Regions from separate parts of the Homo sapiens genome. Here regions 1, 2, 3 and 4 are each linked to region 5. The links are contacts of gene promoters, found by promoter capture Hi-C in blood cells and fetal thymus (Javierre and others, 2016). All regions are on one chromosome and are shown on one strand. Each heading gives the region's core, a stretch centred on a gene start or on the middle of the fragment in contact. The rest is flanking DNA. Distances are from core to core; before and after follow the strand shown.

Region 1 (4,642 bases), core at 737-3,236, 230 kb before region 5:
TGGCTATTCCATAATTTCCCTGAGATGCAAAATCTTTCAGAAAGCCCAGACATTAGTCCAGGCCCTTTTTCCAGTTAATTGCACCTGGTTTACCTAATTCACGTACCTGCCCCGGTGGTTGTACTGAGGTCTTCCCGAGTCATGGAAGGTGTCCTGATAGCATGCACTGTCTGGAGCCGAGTCCTGCCTGCCCCACATTAGCATCTCACTCTCATGCAGCTGTGGTGTCTCTCTGTTACTCTACTTCTGGGGATTCTAAATTGCATACACTGCCTTTCAGTCTACAGCCTGACTGCTCTCTCTTAGCCAAGCACTTGCATTTGGACAGGACTTCAGCATTAGGCTTTGTTGTTTTCCTTAGGGGCCCAGTTTTTATGGAATTTTTTCCTACTGGGTAGCATTGTTGGCACACCTTGAATCCATCCATTCTGCCGCTCTTGGCTTCAACCTCTGAGGTTATGTGTTGGAAAATTACCTTGCATCTTCTACTAGAATAAAGATGAAAGAACATAAGGATGTGGGCTATAGTTTTTAAATGCAGTGTTTCTTTTCTGTGGCTTGTGATACAAATTTGCAAGTGAACTCAAAATGCTACAGTTAAATATCTGCCATGAATTCGACCTAACTATTTGAGGGGTATCTTAGTGCCTTAAAGTAACCCACTTTTGAAATATCTAATTTATTATCTTTGCCAAATTTTAGGCAGATATAACCATTGCTTTGGTTAAGTTGTCCCTCTATAGACAAAAAAGACAACAAAAGGCCTGTCACTATTTAATACTTCAAATGTGAATTCCATGTTGTCTTCTATATCCATAGGGATTATAATAGCTCTTCTTTACTACAACAAAGACAGGAACATATTATGTTTTATCTTAGTCCTTCCCGTAGCAGTGCCACTGTGAAATTAAAAAAACAAAAAACAAAAAAACCGCTACATATTTTAGGTTCACCTGATCGGTTGCTGCACACTATCACATTTAGTCAAGCATAAGTTGTGCATTTTTATCCATTCTAACATCTCTGAAATTGGCACCTTGGAATCCCCGCTTAGTCAGGGATAATTATGGTCTAGTTGCATAAAAACTTTTTGTTGACACCTTCTGTAAGGTCAAGCAAATGCTGGCAGCTGAGAGTCCTTGAAATATGGCTGTGAAAGCTTGGGCAAGTTGATTAATTTCTCTAAGCCATGCATGAAAGGGAGATAAAAGTTTCTCTCCCTCCTGGCACTGCTGTGAGATTTAAATGAAATATGCATGTAAAATACTTAAGATTTACAAATGCTTTCATCTAGTTTTTTCCTCCATTATTATTGACAGGCAGTATTTTTATACTTTTTAGTTTCTTCATATACTTTATCTGTTTAAATTATTTATGCTTTGGATTTTATTTTCCACTTATTTTCAGCATTGCTTATTTACTATTGTTTTATTTAACATTTATTGTACCCTTTATTACCTCTAGTAATGATCTGAATTTTTTTGGTGGGGAGACAAGGTCTTTCTATGTTGCCCAGGCCAGTCTAGAACTCCTGGCCTAAAGTGGTCCTCCCACCTCAGCCTCCCAAGTAGCTGGGACTACAGATACAAGCCACTGCAACTGGCAATGCTCTAAATTACTCTAGGAGATTTAAAAACTAACAAACTTCAGTCTTTTGTTTCTGGATAAACTTTAGTCTGTGGGATATGTTTGTATGTCTTATGATTTCTTCACTATTGGTAATTGCATATATATTTTCTGGTAGTTAACTTTTTTTTTTTTTTTGAGACAGGTTCTCCTCCTGTCACCCAGGCTGGAGTGTAGTGGTACAATCTTGGCTCACTGCAACCTCTGTCCCCTGGGCTCAAGTGATCCTCCCATCTGTCGACCAAGTAGCTGATACCACAGGCATGCACCACCACGCCCAGCAATTTTTTTTATATTTTTAGGAGAGATGGGGTCTCACCATGTGGCCCAGGCTGGTCTCAAACTCCGGAGCTTAAGTGATCCACTCGCCTTGGCTTCCTAAAGTGCCAGGATTACAGGTGTGAGCCACCACTCCTGGCCTGCTTTATTCTTGTTGCATTAAAAAATTTCAGCTCATGACCGGGCGCTGTGGCTCACGCCTGTAATCTCAGCACTTTGGAAGGCCAAGGCGGGCGGATTGCCTGAGGTCAGGAGTTTGAGATCACTCTGGCCAACATGGTGAAACCCTGTCTCTACTAAAAATACAAAAAAATTAGACAGGAGTGGTGGCGTGCACCTGTAATCCCAGCTACTCGGGAGGCTGAGGCAGCGCAATCGCTTGAACCAGGAAGGTGGAGGTTTCAGTGAGCCGAGATTGCACCACTGCACTCCAGCCTGGGCAACAGAGCGAGACCCTGTCTCAAAATAAATAAATAAATAAATAAATAAATAAATAAATAAAAATTCAGCTCATTTTTATATTTTAAAATGAACTCGCTGTTTTTAAAGCTAATAGTTTTAACAGGCCAAGCCCAAATAACAAAATTTGCATCAGACTGTTTTTTAGTGGGTAACATATGGAGACCTTGTGGTGTTTCTCTGTCATCTTCCCTGAAATTTCTCAGAGCTTTCAAGTTTAATTTTGGTCTTCGTTTCAGTAAAAGGCAGGAGCAGGGCAATCTTTATAGCTTTATAGCTTAAGGTTAGCCTTGCTAACCAGTGGTTAAGTGAGAGTGAGACAGAGGGCGAGATGTGATGTGGCAGGGGGAGCCTTCTTTCCTGGCTGAGTGAAGGGAAGAAGGCTTTGAGGTGATACTAGTGCAGTAGCATATTTGGGCTCTCGTTCAGCTGTTGGATAGCAAGCTTCCATAACTTGCTATCTATCCAGCATTGCGTTTTTGACTCAAAGGTTGAAATTTCTTATCTGTAACTTAGGAAACTCAAGTTTTCCTCTGTCTTAAAATGCTTTGATCAGTAATTCTTAACTACTTATACTTGTCATCTTCTAAAATTATTCTTAAAGATACTTAGATTACATTCCACTATATTTGAAATCCATTTCAATTTTCAACTAAGTCTGATGTGGTCAATCTGCTGCAGATATTTAAAGATCAGTGGGTTTCTTCCCATCTGAAATGAATTGTACCAGGTTGACAAACATGAATTTTTGTTAGTTTTTCCAAATCTCCACTAGGGTACTTGATCAGGATTTGAGACAGAGAACAGTGTTGCTTAATAGTTTGAGTTACAAATGAAATTCTCAGCCATTTTTGCCTGCTGTCTCAGGGAGATTGATCCAACCAGCATTTATTTAATAGATCTTATGTGATAGGCATTGGGCCACAGAAAGAGAGATACAAAGGTGAGCAAAATGAGATATGCTGCCTTTGGGGAGCTTACGGCTGAGTAGGGGAGAAAGTCATTAATTAAAGAACTCAATAAATGTAACATTCTGTGAACATTGTTAATGAAGTAGAGGTTCTTCATTGATCCTATAAAGAACTATGAATGTGGAATTTCCTCTGTCAGGATGGTCAGATGGTTGAGGAAGAGTTAGTTAGCCCAAAAGGGGAAGGAAGAGTGTTGCAGGCAGAGAATACCATATATATAGGCTGTGATGGTAAGGTGCTGGGAGGTCTGAGGGGACTGAAGGAACACTGCTGTTGCTGGACTATAGAGAGAGGGGTAGTACAAAATGAGGTGGGATAGATAACATAGGGCCTTGTAAGCTGTATTAAATGAGCATCTTGAGGTGTAATTTAGGCACCATAAAATTCACCTATTATAAGTGTACAATTCAGTGATTAATAAATTTGAAGTAGTGCAGTGTCATTGTAATCCAGTTAGAGACATTTCCTTTGCCCCCAAAGTTCCCTCTTGCCCATTTGCAGATAGTACCCACAACTACACCCAACATGAGGCAATCACTGATCTGCCTTCTCAAGACACTTTATAAAAACGGAATTGTATAATATATAGACTTTTGTGTCTGACTTGTTTCAATTTGCATAATCTTTGAGGTTCATCCATGTTGTAGTGTATATGATTGGTTTTTTCCTTTTAATTGCTGAATAGAATTTCATTGTATAGATAAGCCACATTTTTATCTATTCTTTAGTTGGTGGACATTTGGAATATTTCCAGTTTTGGGCTATTATGAGGAATGCTGCTATGCACATTCATGTATGTGTCTTTGTGTGGACGTATGTTTTCATATCTCTTGGATGAATTCCAAGGACTGCAGTTCCTGGGTCATAGGATAAGTTTATGTTTAACTTTTTAGGAAACTGCCAGACTATTTTCCAAGTATCTATACCAATTTATATTCTCACCAGCAATACATGAGAGATCTAATTTTTTCTATATCAAACAATTAGTATTGACTGTCTTTTTGATTGGAGCCATTCTAGTGTTTTTGGTTGTAGCCATTCTAGTGGGGGTATAGTGGTATATCATTGTGGTTTTAATTTTTAGCATCTTTTCATGAGTTTATTAGCTATTCATATGTCTTCATTATTTTATTTTATTTTTTAGAGACGGGGTCTCATGCTGTTGCCCAGAATGGAGTACAGTGTTGTGATCATAGCTCACTGTAGCCTCGAACACATGGGCTCAAACGACCCTCTTGCCTCAGCTTCCCGAATAGCTAGGACTACAGGCACATATGAGAGCCTGGCTCTCATATATTTTCTTTGAT
Region 2 (4,917 bases), core at 254-2,753, 210 kb before region 5:
GTTGTCAATAGGATTGGTACCTATTCTTCTATGTCTGGTAGAATTTGGCTGTGAATTCATCTGCTTCTGGGGTTTTTTGTTGTTGGGAGATTTTTTTTTATTTTTATTACTGGTTAAGTCTTACTGGTTATTGGTCTCTTCAGGCTTTCTCTTTCTTAGTTCATTCTTGAGAGGTTGTGTGTCTTTAGGAATTTACCTGTTTCATCTAGGTTTTCTAGTTCGTTAGTGTAGAGATGTTCATGGTAGACTCTGATGATCTTTTGTATTTCTGTGGTATCATTTGTAGTGTCTTTTTCATTTCTGATTGTGCTTATTTGAATTTTCTTTCTTCTTGGTTAATGTAGCTAGTAGGCTGTCAATTTTGTTTATCTTTTCAGTGAAGCAACTTTTTGTTTCTTTATCTTTTGGGTTTTTATGATCTGGATTTCATTTAGTTCTGCTCTTCATCATTTCTTTTCTTCTGGGTTTGGTTTGTTCTTGTTTTTCTAGTTCCTTGAGGTACTATGTCAGGTTAACTTGTGGTCTTTCTATTTTTTTCGATTTAGGCATTTAACGCTATAAACTTTTCTTTCTTGAATCCATTTACAGTCAACACTATAAGCTTTTGCTGTATTCCAGAGGTTTTGGTATGTTGTGTCTCTACTTTTGTTTAAAAAATTTTTAAACTTCCATCTTAATTTCATCACTGACCCAAAAATCATTCAAGAGCAGGTTAATTTCCATGTATTTGTATAGATTTGAGAGTCCTTCTTGGAATTGACTTTAGGTTTTTTCCACTGTAGTCTGAGAAGACAACTTGAAATGATTTCAGTTTTTTAAAAATTTATTGAGACTTGCTTCATTCCTTAAGATAAGGTCTGTCTTGGAAAATGTTCCACATGCTAATAAGAAGAATGTATATTCTGTGATTGTTGGGTAGCTTGTTATATAAACATCTGTTAGGTCTATTTGTTCTACAGTCCAATTTAAATCCAGTGGGGTTTTTTTTTTCTTTTTTTTTCTGTCTCAGTGGTCTGTCTAGTGCTGTCAGTGGGGTGTTGAAGTCCCCTCTTGTGCTATAAAGGAATGCCCAAGGCTGGGTAATTTATAAATAAGAGATTTTATTTGGCTCACTATTCTGCAGACTGTACAAGAAGCACAGTGGTTGTGTAAAAGTGCCTGGCCTCCTCTCTTCAGCCTGGCTTGTTGGCTGGTAGCAGCAGCTGCTCAGGGCTCGGAAGCCTGTGTACTCCCATGTGAGTTTGAGCAATGCCTCTGTCAATCTCCAGGCAACTCACTCTATTAGGCTGGAGACCTGCGAGGGTCAAGGGGGTCTCCCACAGCTAGCGTTGCAAAAGTCCATGGTGGGAATGTGGAGCCCTGGGAGTCTCTCATCTACCCTTTCCCAGCATCTAGAAGCTTCTTTCATCTCTCAGCAATCCTGGCTGAGCACGTGCCTTGCTTCCTTCTCCTTTGTGATCAGTGATTCCTGTTGCTTTTCAGTTGAATTCCAGTGTTCTGTTTTAGATGACCTATTTGAAGGGTGAATATCTACTCGCCGTTTTGGAGCTTTCCATGGAAGAGGCATGTACTAGCTGCATCTAGTTAGCCATCTTGAACCAAGCTTCCAGTTTCTCATATTATTAACATCTTAAAATAGTGTGCTGCATTCATCATAGTTAGTGAACTAATATGAATACATTATAGTTTTAAAGTCCATGCTTTATTCAGATTTCCCTACTTTTTAACTAATGTCCTTTTTGTGTTCCAGGATCTCATCTCTAGGATGTAGCATATTACATTTTGTTGTTGTATCTCCTTAGGCTCCTCTTGGCTATGACAGTTTCTCAGACTTCCCTTGTTTTAGATTACCTTGACAGTTTTGAAGAATACTGATCAGGTATTTTGTGGAATGTCCTTCTATGGGAATTGTCTGATATTTTTCTCATGACTAGACTAGGGTTATAGGTTTTGGGATGGAAGTCCACAGATACAATGTACCAGTTCATCACAACAGATCGAGTATACTATCAACATGATTTATGACTGATTTTCTTGACCACCTGGCTGATATAGTGACTATCAGGTCTCTCCACTATAAAGTTACTCTTTTTCTCCCCTTTTGTACTTCATTCTTTGGAAGGAAGTCACTAGGCATAGCCCACTTTAAAGAATGGGGAGTTGTGCTCCCCCTCCTTGAAGGTGGAGTCTTTACATGAATTATCTGGAATTCTTCTACATGTCTGGAACCCAAATTGCAAGATTGTCCAAAAAATACATTTTTCAATTTTCTGCCCTGTCCTCCTTGATAAAGGGATCCTGAAAGAAATGATCTGTATCCCAGGATTCCTGAAAGGTGATAAGTAAGAAGGTAATTCAATGATCAACTTATATTTAAAGTAAGCTACACAGAAAATAAAAGTGGTATTTTATATATTTATAAACAGTCCTAGTTTTGGCCCTGTTGTCCTGCTACTGAGGTCAAAAGGAGGATTTTACCATGCAGCATCAGGATGATGGTCAGTAAACACAATTTCGTATTTGCTCTAAAAACACATGAGTATTGATAGATCATACTGTATTCATTTGTACCTAACATCTTTTGAAAAAATGACCTCACAATGTTCAAGTGATAACAATATCTTTAGACAGAATCACCACACTTTTACTACTTAAAAATTATTCTCTTTTCTCTATTAGATAAATTCTTCCCTTTTAAATAATAAAAACCTAATATAAGGAACTTGGAGAAAACCTCTTGAATTTTAACATTGCAGTATCTCCAGAGCCATGTGGGCAAACTCCCAGTTTAATGCTTGAACCTACTCTGTATTATCATGGCCAGTTTGTTTTTAGGGCACCATTAGGGCATCAGCCCTGATGCTAACCCACTACTTCGAAAGGCGGTTGTTTTGTGCTTTTTTTTTTGGGCTACCAGAGATTTGAGATACAGTATAAGACCAAACTGTCTGTAGCTTTCTCTTACTGACACTTTTACTTTTTGCTTCCAGGAACTGCCAGTCTTATTCTGCAGGATAAAAATCCCTTATAATCACGTATTATTAGTTGGGTCTCTCAGCATTCTAGTTACTGTCTTTTAGACCATTTCTAGCTTTTTTATAGAAGTATGTTTTCATGAAGAGATGAATATGCATCTTTAAAATAAACCTGTTGCAGATTACTGTCTGGTTAGGCATCACCATCTGTGAGATCATTTGCGTGGCTTCTTGAATCATCCATCTACCTTACCTGCAAGGGCCACAAGAGATTAATTTTCTCATACCTGGAAACCAGAATTTCTTTGTCACCTGTTTACCTGTTCTTGCTCCCTGGAGTCTTTCACTTCTGCTTCCAAGCGTGTTTTTCCTATTTGGTAATCACAGCGATCTCTGAAACCCCTTGGAAGTATCTCCTAGTTGGCTCAAACATGTATAGAAAGTTGTAGCATGCTTAACATTTAAGAACCAAAGATGACTTCTTTACTAAATGGTCATTTTCTGCTTTGTAGGCTTGTTTTCTTTGAGAATAAAGAGAAGTTTTGATGTTTTTCTAGAGATTAAAAAAGAGTATGCTGTTATAAAACATTAAATTCAGGTTGACCCATTTGAACGGCTACATCTACATTTTCTTTTGCATATATAGATTTTTGAAGCTTAAATGCAGATAAAATTATGTGCAACTTTGAGGTCCTGCAATTTTAAATATTCTTAGTAAAAAGCCAACAATATCGATTCCAGCTATTTTATATATTAGCAGCTTACCTATATCAGCCAATTCTCACGTAAAACTTGAGAACTGGTAATGGTTTGCTGTTTATTTATTTAGAGTTTAGAGATGGAAGGAATGCACAGAATAACTGTAGCTGACCTCTGTGGATGTTGGTCTAGTGAGAGTTTGCTAGTTAAGAGTGTACATAATCTAGGTAAAACCAAGAGTCTTGTCTGGTTGTGCGGTAAGTGAAGCATTTGCAGTTGGTTTCAGTGTGTTGCATATAAGTTGAGTCAAGGTGGTGTATGAATACGTTTGTCTAGGTATCACTGTAGGACTTGATGATTATGATTTCTTGGTTGTCACTACTCTCTTATAGCTGTCCTGTGTGAATTGGACAACTAGGTGGCAGATAATTTTTCAGATTTTCTGTCAGTAACTTGAAAATAAGAAAACCACTCAAATATATTTATTTATTTTTCACTCTTTGTTTTTATTTATTTAGTTTAGAGATTGGGTCTCACTCTCACAGGCTGGAGTGCAGTGGCATGATCATAGCTCACTGCAGCCTTGAACTGCTGGGCTCAAGTGATCCTCCCATCCCAGCCTCCTGAATAGCTGGGACTATAGGCATACACCATCACATGTGGCTAAATTTTTTATTTTGAAGAGATGAGATCTTGCTATGTTGCCAAGGCTGGCCTCAAACTCCTGGCCTCAAGCCATCCTCCCACCTTGGCTTTCCAAAGTGTTGGGATTATAGGTGTGAGCCACCCTATTGGGCCCCTAATTTATTTTTTAATGCAGAGATTGCAGTAAATAATACTACAGTCCTAGTGTCCTGTAATCGTTGTTAATGGCTTTTGATATGTGATGTTATTGAGATGACTTCCTTATTTTACACATGAATAAAACAGCACCAAAGATAAATGCCTGACTGTATATTTTTTTCCATATTGTTTTGTTTCCTCTAAAAAAATGCTTGCACATGAATATAGACTGCACACACATATTTTTTCATTCATTTGTGCATCAAATAGTTTTGTGTTTTTAAGAGACAGGGGTCTCATTCTGTTGCCCACGTTGAGGTGCAGGGGTGCAATTATAGCTCACTTGGGGGGCCACGTGTTGGTATTATAGACACGAGCCATCACACCTGGCTTGGAATGTTTTATATCTTCCATACCACTTTTGCATAGGGAATGAACTGTCATCCCTTTCATCCAGTCA
Region 3 (4,652 bases), core at 483-2,982, 190 kb before region 5:
CCTAAAATATCCTAAGACTCATGGGCCTCCCAGGAAGTGGCTTTTCTTACTCACCTGCAAGGCTGGGAACTCTGTAAGCCAGTTTTTCCAAAGAAGGCTTTGTAAGGATGACTCTGTAAAGGCAGTCTTAGTTCCTTAGTTCCAGAACACTTAAAAGTGTTTAGTCATATTTGATTGAATGAGCATCATTTTCAAATGTGAGTTTAGTTGCAAAACCAATATTTCCACTTATGTCCTAGTAAAAAAGAGGACAGATTCTTATTTAATCTATGCAAATAACTTTATTGCCCTGAAAATAGAATATTTATTACGTTTCTGAACTTTGGAGGGCTCAAGCAGGGAGAATAAGATGTTTACAAGTGTTTCATTTCAGTATACAAAAGCAGAGTCTACTAAGTTATGAGTTATAGATAGCTTTAAGAAGAAAGAGAAAAGGCTTCCTTATATGTCTGGAAAATACATTCAAACAGCATCAACAATATTCCAGACAAAAACTACAGTCATCCCTCATTAGCTCATTCAGCCATATCTAGTTAATTTTTGTTCCACTGGATGTGGGGTTAGTAGTATTATCAACCCATCGGCTTCCTCATAAGAGTCCTGGAAATTCTGACTTAGGCCACTGGTATGGTCTGAAAGTTGTTTAAGCAATGTCATTTAGAAGCCTGTGCCCCAAAGTACCTGGCATAGCCCTTTTCCATGGGGTTCTGATTCCTTCTGGCCTGTAGCTGATTGAAAAGGCTCTGAGGGAAACATCAGAATAAAACAGCAACAAATAGATGTCTGCAGATAAAAACATTTAAAATGGCTGCAGTTAATTTTTTACTGATCATTTTCAAAAAATGAAGGATCTGATGAGAGTTTGAGAAAAATATAACTGACAAGGAAATCTGGTTTCTGTGACATGCAAAACAAGATAATAAAGTCAATAAAAAAATTTTAAACAATTTAAAATGTAATAATGAACTCTATAGTTAAAGGATGTAATATTATATCTGATTTATAAAAGCAGATGAGCATAAACTTTACAGAGAAATGAATCTTGAAATATAGCAATAATCCTAGATATTATGTACCAATAATGTATCCAGAATATCAAGTGAAAAGATCTAGTAAGTCTGGAGTGGGTCCTAAGCTTCTGTATATTAATGAAACTCCATCTCCATAGTAAATTATGTGAATCCTTAATTGAAAACCACTGGCCCAGAAGATGCTGCATTCACATTTGAAAAGTGAAGTTGTAACCAAGTTAACATTTTAAAACATAAGAGTGATAACAGCTATACAGTGCAGAGTATCAGGACTTTGATAAATAGAAACTAATCATGACAGTGAGAGCATTGACAAATCTCTTCTGATTTGCTAATTCCTCCCATGCAGTTTCATCAATAGTAACAAACACAATTGTTTCCAGTACTTTTTTTTTTTTTTTTTTTTACTGTGAAAGAATAAATTTTTGTCCTCTTTCATGGGCCCTCTTATAAATCTCAGAGACAGTTTTAGTCCCAAAAGTATCTCAAATTTTTTATTTTATTTTACATTTAGGATTTGAATTTGTAAAGACATAAATGAAAAGTTACCAGGAGATTTCAACACTTAGGAATCAGATCATAGGTGCCTGAGAAATACTTTCCTACTCATTTCAAAGTGACATCCAAACATTTGAAAATAAAGTGAAGGTTACATGATTGTAAAGCATTTGGCTCTTTCATAAGTGAGAAATATTTAATCAAGGACATTGTACAATCAACATGAAAAGCACAGAAAACTATTTTGGTAAAACAGAATCTTTGTTATTTATACAGCAGATATCTTACAATCTCTTACTAAGGGCAGATCAATAATCCAAGAAAATTTTCTAATTTCAACAGAGAAAACCAAACTCCAGTATTGTATCAGTGTAATATTTGATACTACAGGAACTACAAGCACTTTTATAAAATCTTTTTTTTTTTTTTTCAAAACTGAGCTAACTTTGGCCAAGGCAAGTAAAATTATCTTTTCTCAAATCTTCTACAACTTTCTATATCAATTTTTGTCCTTTACAGCTGATGTAGTTTGGATATTTGTCCCCTCCAAATTTCATATTGAAATGTTATCCCCAATGTTGGATGTAGGGTCTTCTGAGAGGGGTTTGGGTCATAGAGGCGGATCCCTCATGAATGGCTTAATGCCCTCCTCTGGGTAATGCATAAATTCTCACTTAGTTCCTCTGAGATCATATTAAGAAGAGCCTGACACCTCCCTCCTTGCTCTCTTGACCTGTCGTCCTTCCTCTCACCTTGTAATCTCTGTTCTCCTTCTCCCTGTATCATGAATGGGAAGCTTCTTGAGTGTCTCTCTGGAAGCAGATCCTGGCACCATGCTTCTTGTATAGTCTGCAGAACCATGAGCCAAATAATCCTCTTTTCTTTATAAATTACCCAGCCTCAGGTATTCCTTTATAGTAATGCGAACAGACTGAGACAACCCTCTTTCTCGTTCTGGAACAACCAGCCCTTTTATTTTAGGACAAAACTATTTTTTTTTCCTTAATAAACAAAACCCATCCTACTACCTCACACGTAGTGTTGTACCTGCCTGCCACCATTGTTCTAGTAGTCTCATTCACATGTTATTGATAACTTTTAGCCAAAGTAACTTTTATTACACAGAGAAAACTAGGGAGTGGATAATTGTGAGCTGTTGCATGCCACTGTTTTAGCAAACTAGCAGAGCTAACATCCAGAGCTAACACAACTTTAACTGTGTGTACACTTTCATTGTGTACAAGTCTCAAGAGTGGCAAAAATGAACACATTTAACTGATTAAAAGAGCCAAAGACATAGCCTCTTTGTAGCATATAAAAATAAGAAACAAGTATATTTGTCAGGCCTCTGAGCCCAAGCCTGCATGTATACATCCAGATCGCCTGAAGCAACTGAAGAATCACAAAAGAAGTGAAAATTTTCCACTACCTACCCAAATCCTATAAAACTGCCCCACCCCAACTCCCCTTGCTGACTCTATTTTCAGACTCAGCCCATCTGCACCCAGGTGATTAAAAAGCTTTCTTGCTCACACAAAGCCTGTTTGGTGGTCTCTTCACATGGACGTGCGTGACAATATTAAATTTATGCTTAGTTATAAATGTCTCAATATTCAGTCTTACTTAGAAATGAGATCAGTATTGAGTGCATATTCATTAGTTAATTCAAATTGATACCAGTTCGAGTTTTTAAGTTTCCTAAAGATCTTGGAAATTTGTCTTCAAGCTGATATATTGCAAGACATAATTACTGTTGAAATACAAGGTCATCAGAATAATGATTTTGTTTGGTTGAACACAAATTTACCTTTTCCATAATCTTAGACATTAAGTAGAAGTAACGCTAGTTTATTCAATCAGTAAACCTGTATAGGTTTATGAATGACGTACCCAAATAGAATAAAAGTCTATGCTTATACTTAATATTGATAAATCAGTAAAGATACAACTGTTTCTTTTAAACCATAAATATTAAACTGGTCCCATTTCCAAAGATTTGCTTTTTTTATGTGAACTTGATTTCTTAATACAGCTCAATAATTGGTTTCTTGAAAGTGTTAGATCTTCAACCTCCTTATTTTCTGGGAAATTTAGGAATATTCTGTTTATATATGTACTTATTTACCTCTATGAGTAAATCAGAATATATTACTTTAAGAGATTTCATAATGTAGTAGATTTTATAATCTAATTTGTTAATCCCATTCTGAGGTAGAAAATTATTGCACCTTCACACATTGAAAGACAACAGCCTTTCTGAATTACACATAGACACGCAGATGCGGAAAGAGTTTATGACTTCAATTCTGAAATTTCAACTATGGGGCCATGGCAAATACAGAATTATAAAACTCATCAGTCCGTGTCAAAGAGTTGCTCTCTTCCCAGTGAGCATGAATTCTTAATTGATTCGTGGTGAGAACAGACAAATAGACAAACAGAAAAAAACTAACAAACCAGACTATTTATAGTTGCTCACCCATTAAACCATTCACAAAGATTAGAGATTTTTATAAAATGGCCAGACCATAAAACCGAATCCCCATTGGGAAATAATTTGTTGGAGGTCCCAAATTTCACAGCCATGTGGTTTGAATAGGATAGAATCACCTGTAGCTCCAGATGGCTCTAATTGGCCTAAAGCAATTAATGTTATCTTGTTCTTCAACCAGTCACTGTGGGAAAAAGTAGGGGTAGAATGTTGCTGGGAAACAGAAGTTTTCTGGCTTAAACAGTAACTAGATCACATCTGGCATTAATTACAAGCCTGTGGTATTGATTAAAAACAAATAAATGGATAGCAACTTAACTGTAACAGAATTTGGCGATAGCAACTGGGTAGTTGCAAGTAACAGACCCTAATATGTGAAATTGGCTTAATAGATACAAGTGAAGTCAGGCAGTCTCTTGCCACAGGGATTGTTTTAGGATAGTGTCTACCCCTAGGACTGGGAGTGGGGACCCAATCCTACTGAAAGTCAATGCTGAGAAGTTTAGGGCTCTTCAGGGGAAGGTAAAGGAGAGAATAGTGTTGGAAACTCTGATTTGTGATAGGGACAAACTGAGCCATGGAGGGAGCCATCAAGGCGGGTCTTGATCCTGTGCTGTGAAGTAGGCAATCCT
Region 4 (4,860 bases), core at 2,091-4,590, 170 kb before region 5:
CTGCACTCTAGCCTGGGTGACAGAGTGATCCCTGTCTCCACAAAAAGTATTTAGTCAGACATGTTGGCACATCCCTGTAGTCCCAATTCCTCAGAAGGCTGAGGCAGGAGGATCACTTGAGCCCAAGAGGTCAAGGCTGCCATGAACCATGATCATGCCACTGCACTCCCAGCCTAGGTGACAGAGCAAGGAAATACAACTAAGATCTTCTCTTCCTTAGGCAATAGTTTTTGTTACTCATTTGGGTTTAGAGCAAGAATGAGTAGATTCAGGAAAATGACTTTATTTTTAAAAATCAGATTTATGTTTAGAGTGTTCACTTTTTTTTTTTAAAGAAAGTCATAGGATGGAAGATGATCGTAGTTGTTTGAGGGTTGCCATAACAAATTGCCATACGGAAGGTGGCTTAAACAACAGAAATTTATTTTCTCATAGTCTGGAGGCTGGAAGTCCAAGATGAAGGTGGCAGCAGGGCTGGTTTCTCCTTGGCTTGTAGATGGCCATCTTCTCCCTCTGTGTTCACATTGTCTTTTATCTGTGTGTGTCTGTGTCACAAACTCCTCTTATTACAAGGACACCAATCCTATTGGATTAGAGTCCACTAGGATTAGAGTCACCTCCTGAGTAGCCGGGACTACTATTGACCTCATGTAAACTTAATTACATCTTTAAAGTCCCTATTCCAAATAGTTATATTCTGAGGAAGAAGGAGTTTAGGACATCAACATCTAAATTTTCACAGAAGGGAGGGGAATACACAGTTTAGCCCATGATAGTTGTGTATCAGGGAGGTCAACCTAAAGGCAAAAAGGCCAGGTGGGATGTTATTCTTCAAGAATTCTAGCTGAGAAATGAAGAGAATCTAAACTAAAGCATTGTCAATAAAAATGAAAATGAGTTGTGATTGAGAGGAGGAAGAATTTGATACAAGACTATGTGACTGAATGTGGAGGGGCATGAGAGGAAGGAGGCTGGCATGGCTCCCAGATTTCCCTGCTCCAGGAGGAGAAACTGAGTTGAAGGAGATGTGAGCTGTGTGATATCCCGATTGAGTATTCAGCACTTTGTTAGCCAGACACCCCAGGACTGGTCAGCTGTCCTACTTTCTTCACTCTTTCGCCGTGACTCCTCATAATGTGGACTGTGTCACATACAACTGAGCATGCAGCCTCTCCACTTGAAATGTGTCTTAAGACACTTATCACCATCTGAACTTTCACGTGAAATGTGACTTAAGACACTTATTACCATCTTATTTTGACAGTGAATTCTAAACTCTTATTTTTTCCTGATAATAAAAAATTAAATCTCTTAAATAAAATGTTAAATCCTTTAGGACAGGGACTATTGTGTATTCATTTTGCCCAAATGTGCAATATTTACTGCCTGGCTACATACATCTAGTATATAGTAGGTTGTGCTTTGCAAATTCTAGTTCAGGGAATGATTTGTCAGTAGGGTTGTTGTGATCAATTACTTGTTCTTTGCATATTTTAATCAAAGATTGATAATTAAAACCTGTTTGATTTTCTTGCAGAATGAGAAGACTTTGGGACATTTCATGAGTCATTCAAGCAACATTTCTAAGGTAGAGTGCCACTGAAAAATGTTATTTATTACCTTGAGTCTTTTCTGTTCTTATGCCTTACATGTGTTTATACTCTTTTTTTTTTTTTTGAAAAGACGTTAGAGTTCTTGATACATTTCTGTAATCTGTTCTGGGACCATAAGAGGTATGTGGCAGTTACATTTTTCTGGTAAGGCAATTTTGAGTGTGTGTTGGGGGAAGTGACTTCTGGGAGAAAATTCCATTTTTTCCAGAAAACCATATACTTTAAGGCAGAAGAAATCTCAGGCACAGGAGAGTCTGTTGCCACAATTAGGAATATATTTGACTGAAAGTAACAGAAAGCTAACTATGATGACTTACATAATTATGGATTTATATGGTTCATTTGACAAGGTGTCTGGAAGCAGGTGATCCAGGGCAGAGTTGATCACAGATTGTAGTGCACCCGATTCTGTGGCTGTTCGGGGTGCCACTGTGTAACCCGCATGGACCTAGGGGAACTGAACAAGGGGTGAAGGCGGGAATAAAAGACAAGAGACAAAAGAGTATATTTGGAAGAAGGAGGCATCTTGGCTCTAGTGGACAAGGGCCCTGAGCTTTACACAGCCCTCCATATTTATTAGGCAAAAGAGATAGTGAGAAGGCGGGTGGAAGAAGGGGTCAGCTGCTCAGTCTAGAGTAGGCTTGCAAGACTGCATTCCTTGAACAAAAGGTTCTAGATGTTGCAGTAGAGAACCTTGGCGCCAGGGAGTGATTGCCTCCAGCAAACCTTCTGTTGGCAGGAGCAGTCGGCCGGAGCAGTCGTGAGTTTGCTCATATCCTGCATTCATGATGAACGGTTTGCTGTTTGATCATATAGTCTCCAGGGGAATGCTGAGTTGGTCACGTCCCATGGGTCTTCGGCTCCCTGTAACAGATGTTGCCAGGGACCCAGGCTCTTTCCTCTCTGTGCTATCTCCTACTTGACACATGGTCTCACGATGAGAGCTGGACCTTCAGGCATTGCGGTTGTGGCCTTGGCAGGAATTAGAGGACTGATCAAGGATTAACAGGTCTGTTAGCTGAGAGTCACCATTTTCAGCAGGAAGGCAAAAGTTGTCCCACAAGTCCCACCTGGCCGCCTGAAATCTGCTTACATCTCCCTGGCCAGAACTGGATCACAGGCCACCTCTAGCTGGAAGGCAGCTAGGGAAAGGAGGGCTTGGGAAGTGAATCAGCCATCCAACAGCATCTCCTCACCTGTGGTGTGGTCTTTTTAGCGCACCAGGAGCACACTGGCTGCTAGGGTATGGCCTGGGAACCAGCAGAGTGTATCTGATGCAGTGAGCTTGCTTCCAGGCAGTGCTCCTCTCTCAGCCCACACATTGACTCTGGCCAACCCCTTCGCCATACAGTTAAGGCCATGAAAGTTCTTTGTAAGGGTGGACCTTTTCCCCATGTTTTTGGCATATGGCCAAACACACCACAGATTCAGCTGGGAGGATTTGAACAAGTGACAAAGTCTATCTGCTGTCTCAGGCCTCCTAGATACTCTGAAATGAACAGTTACATTATATGCCATTTTAATGTGCTGACTACATATATGTTTTCATTCAGGTCACCTTATTTTTTTAAGACTAAAAGTAAACTCTGGCAAACCTTCTTAAGACATTTGTCTGTTCTTAGGCATATTTGTAATCTAATTATATTATTCTTCCGCTTAATTTTGCGTTAAAAATAGGAATGCCTTTCACAAAATATTTTTTCCCATCCAACCTCCATTTCTTTTCTTTTGCTGTCCCTTTGGCCAGGAATGCTGCAGTGCTAGAACTATGCAGTGGTAAACCATTGCTGCCCATTTTTGCACCTTTTAAAGGAGCTAATCAGTGTCTAAGCACGGAGAAAAGTGAGAAGGTGCAGCTGCAGATGGCCTGTTTGCTTAAGTTGAATTAAATGTGTTAAAAAACGCTCAGTAACACATGTATGTCGCCTTGCCCTAGTAGCCAAGGGCAGTTCTGAAGGAGGACATCCTATGCTTTAAATATGTACCTGTTCATTCATGGATTTCAGTCACATTTTATTTAAAGGAAACTTCTTCCTATAGTTAAAAAAAACTGTTTGCAAACCACCATCTTAAAAAGTCTAGAGGAAAGGCTATTGTCCTGGCTTGGGTTGTGGGTATTTTGAGCTTTGTAAGGGTTTTGGAATTAACATGGATGATGGTTTACTAGCCATGTGATTTTGAAAAAGGACATCTCTCTGAGCTTTAATTTAGTTATCAGTAAAAGTAGGGTAAGCCAGGCGTGGTGGCTCACACCTGTAATCGCAGCAATTTGGGAGGCTGAAGCGGGCGGATCACCTGAGGTCAGGAGTTTGAGACCAGCCTGGCCAACATGATGAAACCCCATCTTTACTAAAATTCCAAAAAAATAGCCAGGCGTGGTGGTGCACACCTGCAGTCCCAGCTGCTTGGGAGGCTGAGGCAGGAGAATCGCTTGAACCTGGGAGGCGGAGGTTGCAGTGAGCTAAGATCACACCATTGCACTCCAGCTTAGGCAACAAGAGCAAAACTCCGTCTCAAAAAAAAAAAAAAAAAAAAAAGTAGGGTAATAATACAACCTTCAGGGTTGTTCCGAGTCTTGGGATTAACATTTGCATGGAACCATGGGGCAGCTCACCCATTACACTGAGCCAACAAACCTGACTCTTGTCAAAGTTCGTTGAATCCTGGTGACCTTAGGTTGATTGGGCCAGGACAGTTCATTTAATGGTAGCTTTATTATTTATTGCTGAACAATGGAGAACCATACATTATTTTTTCCTTCTTGCATACATTTTTTTTTAGACAGAGTCTCGCTCCGTAGCCCAGGCTGGAGTGCCGTGGTGCAATCTTGGCTCACTGCAACCTCCGCCTCCTGGATTTAAGCAATTCTCCTGCCTCAGCCTCCTGAGTAGCTGGGATTACAGGTGCGTGCCACCACGCCCAGCTAATTTTTGTATTTTTAGTAGAGACAGGGTTTCACTATGTTGATCAGGCTGGCCTCAAACTCCTGACCTCCTGATCCACCCGCCTTGGCCTCCCAAAGTGCTAGGATTACAGGCGTGAGCCACCGTGCCCGGCCCCTTCTTGAATACATTTTTACTGTGTGCTGTTTGCGACTGGACACTTAGTGTGTCCAGTGAGTTCCGGGATGCTTACTATGGTCATTGGAGAGTATCTGAGTGGAGTGAGCCTTTAGAACATTTGATTACTCACAGAACTTCCTGGTTAACCTGTCAACGTGAAATTCTGTTGCAAAGTGTACCCTTTT
Region 5 (4,830 bases), core at 574-3,073:
TAAGGGGGAGGTAAACACTGGGTACTGATGGACATAAAGATAGCAACAATAGACACTGGGGACTATTGGGGTGGTGAAGGAGGGAAGGGAGAAAGTGTTGAAAAACTGTTGAGTACTATTCTCAGTATCTGGGTAATGGGACCATTCATACCCCAAACCTCAACATCACACAATATACCCAGGTTACAAACTTGCACAAGTGCCCTCTGAATCTAAAATAAAAGTTGAAAAAGCAAAAATAAAACAGTAAACAACAACAACAACAAAACAGCAAAACCCTCAATAAATACATAAATAAAAATATAAATAAATGTCTTTGCCAGAGCTTTTTGTTTTTTGTGTGGCTTTGAGTTAGTATCTGGGGTCACGTTGCTTTTAAGCTGTTTGCTATCAACTGCATCCTATCTAATATTTCTTTTTCTTAATAGTAAACCACTCAATTTTTGTGAGGAGATATTACATTGTGGTTTTGATTTACATTTCTCTAATGATTTCCTTTCCAGTTTGGATGCTGAGCATTTTTTCTTATGTTTTTTGCCCATTCATATATAATTTTAAAAGAAATGTCTATTCAAATCCTTTTGCCATTTTAAAATCATATTATTTTTAAATATTGTGTTGTAGAAATTATTTATATATTCTGGATATTAACTCTTTATCAGATATATAATTTACTAATATTTTCTTCCATCCACAAGTTTTTTTTAACATTGTTATGTCCTTTAATGCATAAAAGTTTTAAAAAGTTTGATGTAGTCCCAATTGTCTATTTTTTCTTTTGTTGTCTGTACTTTTGGTGTCATATTAAAAAATAATTGCCATATCCCCTTATTCTAAGAGTTTTATAGTTTTAGATCTTCCATTTAAGTTTTAAATCCATTTTGAGTTAATTCTTGTATATGGCATAAGACAAAGTTTCAACTTCACTCTTTCATGTGTGGATATCCAAGTTTCCCAACACTGTTTGTTGAAGAGAATGTTCTTCCCTCATTGAGCGGATCTGGAATGCTGTAAATATTATTTGACCATATATGTGGAGTTTTCTTTTAATGGGTTCTTTATTCTATTCCATTGGTCTATATGTCTCTCTTTAAGCCAGTGTCATGCTGTTTTAATTACTGTAGTCTTGTAACATGTTTTGAGATCACGGAGCATGAGACCTTCAACTCAGTTAGTTTTCAAGATTGTCTAGTCAGAGTATATATGAATATTTAGATAAATTTTTCTCTTTTTTCAAAAAATGCAGCTTAGATTTTGATAGGGATTACATATAATTTGTAGACTGCTTTGGGTTCTATTGACTTTTCAAATTAATACATAATGTTGTACAGATTTGGGGAATACATCTGATATTTTGGAGATCTTAACATTAAATCTTCCAATCCATGAATACCAATGTCTTTACATTTATTTGTGACTTCTTTCAGTACTGTTTTGTAGTTTTCAGTGTACAAGCCTTTTATTTCCCTGGCTAAGTTTATTCCTAAGTATTTTACTATTTTTGATGGTATTGTAATTAAATTATTTTCTTAATTACCTTTGGATTGTTTATAGTTAATTTATAGAAAGGCAACTGATTTTTGTGTGTCGATTTTGGATCCTGCAACTTTCCAGAATTTGTTTAATAGTTCCAACAGTTTTCTGGATTTTATGCATATATGCATCTAACAGTTTTCTAGATTTTATGCAGGAGTCTAGGATTTTATGCATATAGGATCAAGTCATCTGTGAGCAGAGATAATTTTACTTTTTTCTTTTATTCTTTGGATGTCTTTTCTTGCTTAATTTTTTTTTCCTAATTGGTCTGCTTGGAAATTCAAATACTATATTGAATAGAAGCGAAGAGACAGAGTATACTTGTCTTGTTCCTAATCCAGAAGAAAAGTTTGAATCTTTTACCATTGAGTGTAAGTTTACCTGTGGATTTTTCATATATGGCCTTTATTATGTTATTTTCCTTCTATTCCTAGTTTGCTGAGTGTTTTCGTGATAAAAGGTGTTAAATTTTGTTAAACATTTTTTCTACATCAATATAAATGATCATGCTGTTTTGTCCTTTATTCTATTACTATAGTGTATTACATTGATTTTTGCATGTTGTATTATTCTTTTTTTTTGAGATGAAATCTCATTCTGTCATTCTGGCTGGAGTGCAGTGGCATGACCTCAGCTCACTGCAACATTTGCCTCCTGGGTTCAAGGGATTCTCCTGTCTCAGCCTCCCAAAGTGCTGGGATTACAGGCATGAGCCAGCACACCCTGCCACATGTTCTATCATTCTTGCATTCCAGGAATAAAGCCAACCTGATCATCACAAATATTGGTCTGTAGTTTTCTTTTCATGTAATGTCTTTGTTTGACTTTGAAATCAGGGTAATACTGGCCTCATATAATGAGCTTTGAAGTGTTTTTTATATTCATTTTTGTAAATGACTTTGAGAAACATTGGTTCTAATTCTTCCTTAAATGTTTGGTAGTCATCCGGTTCTGGGCTGTTGTTTGTTTGGAGGTTTTTGAACCAGTTTAATCTCCTTCGTAGTTATAAGTCTGTTCGTTTTTTCTACTTCTTCATGATTCACTCTTATTAGGTTGTATATTTCTAGAAATTTATGCACTTCTAAATTATCCAATTTGTTGACATATAATTAACTGTTGATGGTATTTTCTTATAATCCTTTTGATTTCTATGGCATGGGTTCTAATGTTCTCTTTTTTATTTCTGATTTATTAGTTGAATCTTTTTTCCTTAGTTAATCTAGCTAAGCATTTGTTAATTTTGTTGGTGTTTTCAAAAACCACCTCTTAGTTTTGTTGATTTTTTTCTATTGTTTTTATATTCTATATTTCATTTATCTCTGATTTAATCTAATCTTTAGGATTTTCCTCCTTCTGCTAGCTTTGGGTGTAGTTTTTTTTCTCTCCTAGTTTCCTGAGGTATAAAGTTAGGTTGTTGATTTGCAAACTTTCTTCTACTTCTTTTTTTTTTTTTCTTAAGTTGTGGAGATGGGGTCTTGCTTTGTTGCCCAGGCTGGTCTCAAATTCCTGGCCTCCAGAAGTTCTCCTCCCTCAGCCTGTCAAAGTGCTGGGATTGCAGGCATGACCCACCATGCCTAGCCACTTTCTTCCTTTTATAATGCACATATTTATAGCTATAAAATTCTCTGTTAGCACTGCTTCTGCTGCATCTTACACATTTTGGTACATTGTATTTTTATTTTCCTTTATCTCAAGATATTTTCTAACTTCCCTTGTGATTTCTTTTTTGACCCATTGCTTGTTGAAAACTGTGTTGTTTAATTTTCACATATTTGTGAATTTTTTGTTTTCCTTCTGCTACTGATGTCTAGTTTTATGTCATTTTCATCAAAATAGATATTTTGTATAATTTCAATCTTTTAAAATTTGTTACAAGTTTTTTTGTGGTATAACATGTGATTTATCTTTGGGAATATTCCATGTAAACTTGAGAAAAATACTATTCTGATTTTATTGGGTGGAATGTTCTGCACATGTTTGTTAGCACTATTTATAGTGTTGTTCAAGTACTGTATTTCCTTATCGATTTTCTGTCTTGTTGTTCTAGCCATTATTGTAAGTGAGGAATTGAAGTCGCCTACCATTATTATGCTGTTTATGTTTCCTCTCTGATCTGTCAATGTTTGCTTCAGATATTTAGGAGCTCTGGTATTAGAGGTATATATATTTGTAATTGTTATATCTTTCTGCTGAATTGACTTTTTGTTATATAATATCCATTTTTTTGTCTTGTGACTATTTTTGACTTTAAGTCTATTTTGTTGGATAGTAGTATAGTCACTTCTGCTTGCTTTTATTTACCATTTGCATGGCATTTACTTTTCCTTTTTTTCATTTTAAGCATATTTGTTTCTTAGACCTAAATGACAGGATAAAGTTGGATCCTTTTTACAAATCCATTTTCCAGTCTATATCTTTTGATTCAGGAGTTTAATCCATTTACATTTAAAGTAATTACTGATAGGGAAGGACCTACACTTGCCATTTTGTTGTTTCCTGTATGTTTTGTAAATTTTGTTTTTTATTCCTTCTCTTACTGACCTCTTTTGGGTTTTGTCGATTTTTTTTTGTGGTGACATTTTGATTCCCTTCCTGTTTCCTTTTGTGTGTATTCTATAGATTTTTTTATGGTTACCATAAGAATTATAAAAAACATCTTAAAGTGTTAACAAGCTATTTTAAACTGTTAAGAGAATAACTTCGACTGTGTACAAAAACTATTTCTTCAAAGCTCCTACCCTCACCTTAGGTTACTTATGTCACAAGTTACATCTTCATATGTAATGTATTCATTAACACAGTTTTATAGTTATTTTTAAGCTTTTGTCTTGTAAATTCTATACAAGAATTAAAAGTGCATTTATGTACCAAAACTGCATAGTACAGTCTCTATATATGTCCATATATTTATCTTTACTGGAGAGCTTTATATTTTCATAAGACTTCATGTTACTATTTAGCATCCTTTTGTTTCAACTTGCAAGATACTACAGCAGGTCCAGTGGTAATGAACTCCCCAGTTTTTGTTCATCCTGGAAAGGCTGATTTTTCCTTTATGTTTGAAGGATGGTTTTGCTGGATATAATATTTTTGGTTGAAATTTTCTTTTCTTTCAGCTCTTTGAATATATTATCCCCCTGCCTTCTGGCCTGCAAGGTTTCTGTTGATAAATCCACTGATAATTTTATAAAGGCTTCCTTTTACATGACAAGTTACTTTCTTTTGCTGCTTTCAAGATTGTCTCTTTGTCTTTGACTTTTGAGAGTTTGATTATAGTGTGTCTCACTGTGAGTC

The links. The method cuts DNA at HindIII sites, captures the fragments that hold promoters and counts their contacts. A CHiCAGO score of 5 or more calls a contact.
Region 1: a contact is called between a fragment that was not itself captured here and the fragment with the promoter of OR13A1 in region 5, in 1 of 17 cell types (neutrophils). The highest score is 6.9, in neutrophils.
Region 2: a contact is called between a fragment that was not itself captured here and the fragment with the promoter of OR13A1 in region 5, in 4 of 17 cell types (total B cells, naive B cells, M1 macrophages and 1 more). The highest score is 8.5, in total B cells.
Region 3: a fragment that was not itself captured here is called in contact with the fragment with the promoter of OR13A1 in region 5 in 5 of 17 cell types (total B cells, neutrophils, M2 macrophages and 2 more); the score reaches 7.5 in total B cells.
Region 4: a contact is called between a fragment that was not itself captured here and the fragment with the promoter of OR13A1 in region 5, in 3 of 17 cell types (total B cells, neutrophils and monocytes). The highest score is 5.4, in total B cells.

Annotation. Positions count from the first base shown.
Region 1 is chr10:45,543,904-45,548,545 of GRCh38, reverse strand. It overlaps a transcript of MARCHF8 not described here. Among named protein-coding and RNA genes, the nearest start is that of MARCHF8, 11 kb to the right of the region's middle. The HindIII fragment of the contact is 1,649 bases long and covers 1,162-2,810 here.
Region 2 is chr10:45,522,799-45,527,715 of GRCh38, reverse strand. The region is part of intron 2 of MARCHF8 (membrane associated ring-CH-type finger 8); the gene reads left to right. Among named protein-coding and RNA genes, the nearest start is that of MARCHF8, 10 kb to the left of the region's middle. The HindIII fragment of the contact is 205 bases long and covers 1,401-1,605 here.
Region 3 is chr10:45,505,119-45,509,770 of GRCh38, reverse strand. All of the region lies in intron 2 of MARCHF8 (membrane associated ring-CH-type finger 8), which reads left to right. LOC105378286 (a long non-coding RNA gene) reads right to left here. Exons shown (of 3, transcript XR_945919.1): 2 at 55-235. Among named protein-coding and RNA genes, the nearest start is that of MARCHF8, 28 kb to the left of the region's middle. The HindIII fragment of the contact is 1,190 bases long and covers 1,138-2,327 here.
Region 4 is chr10:45,486,095-45,490,954 of GRCh38, reverse strand. It overlaps MARCHF8 (membrane associated ring-CH-type finger 8), which reads left to right. Exons shown (of 8, transcript NM_001282866.2): 3 at 1,538-1,588. All of the region lies in intron 1 of LOC105378286 (a long non-coding RNA gene), which reads right to left. Among named protein-coding and RNA genes, the nearest start is that of MARCHF8, 47 kb to the left of the region's middle. The HindIII fragment of the contact is 8,910 bases long and covers 1-4,860 here.
Region 5 is chr10:45,312,601-45,317,430 of GRCh38, reverse strand. It overlaps OR13A1 (olfactory receptor family 13 subfamily A member 1), which reads left to right and starts at 1,823. Exons shown (of 4, transcript NM_001004297.3): 1 at 1,823-1,907. The HindIII fragment of the contact is 10,818 bases long and covers 1-4,358 here.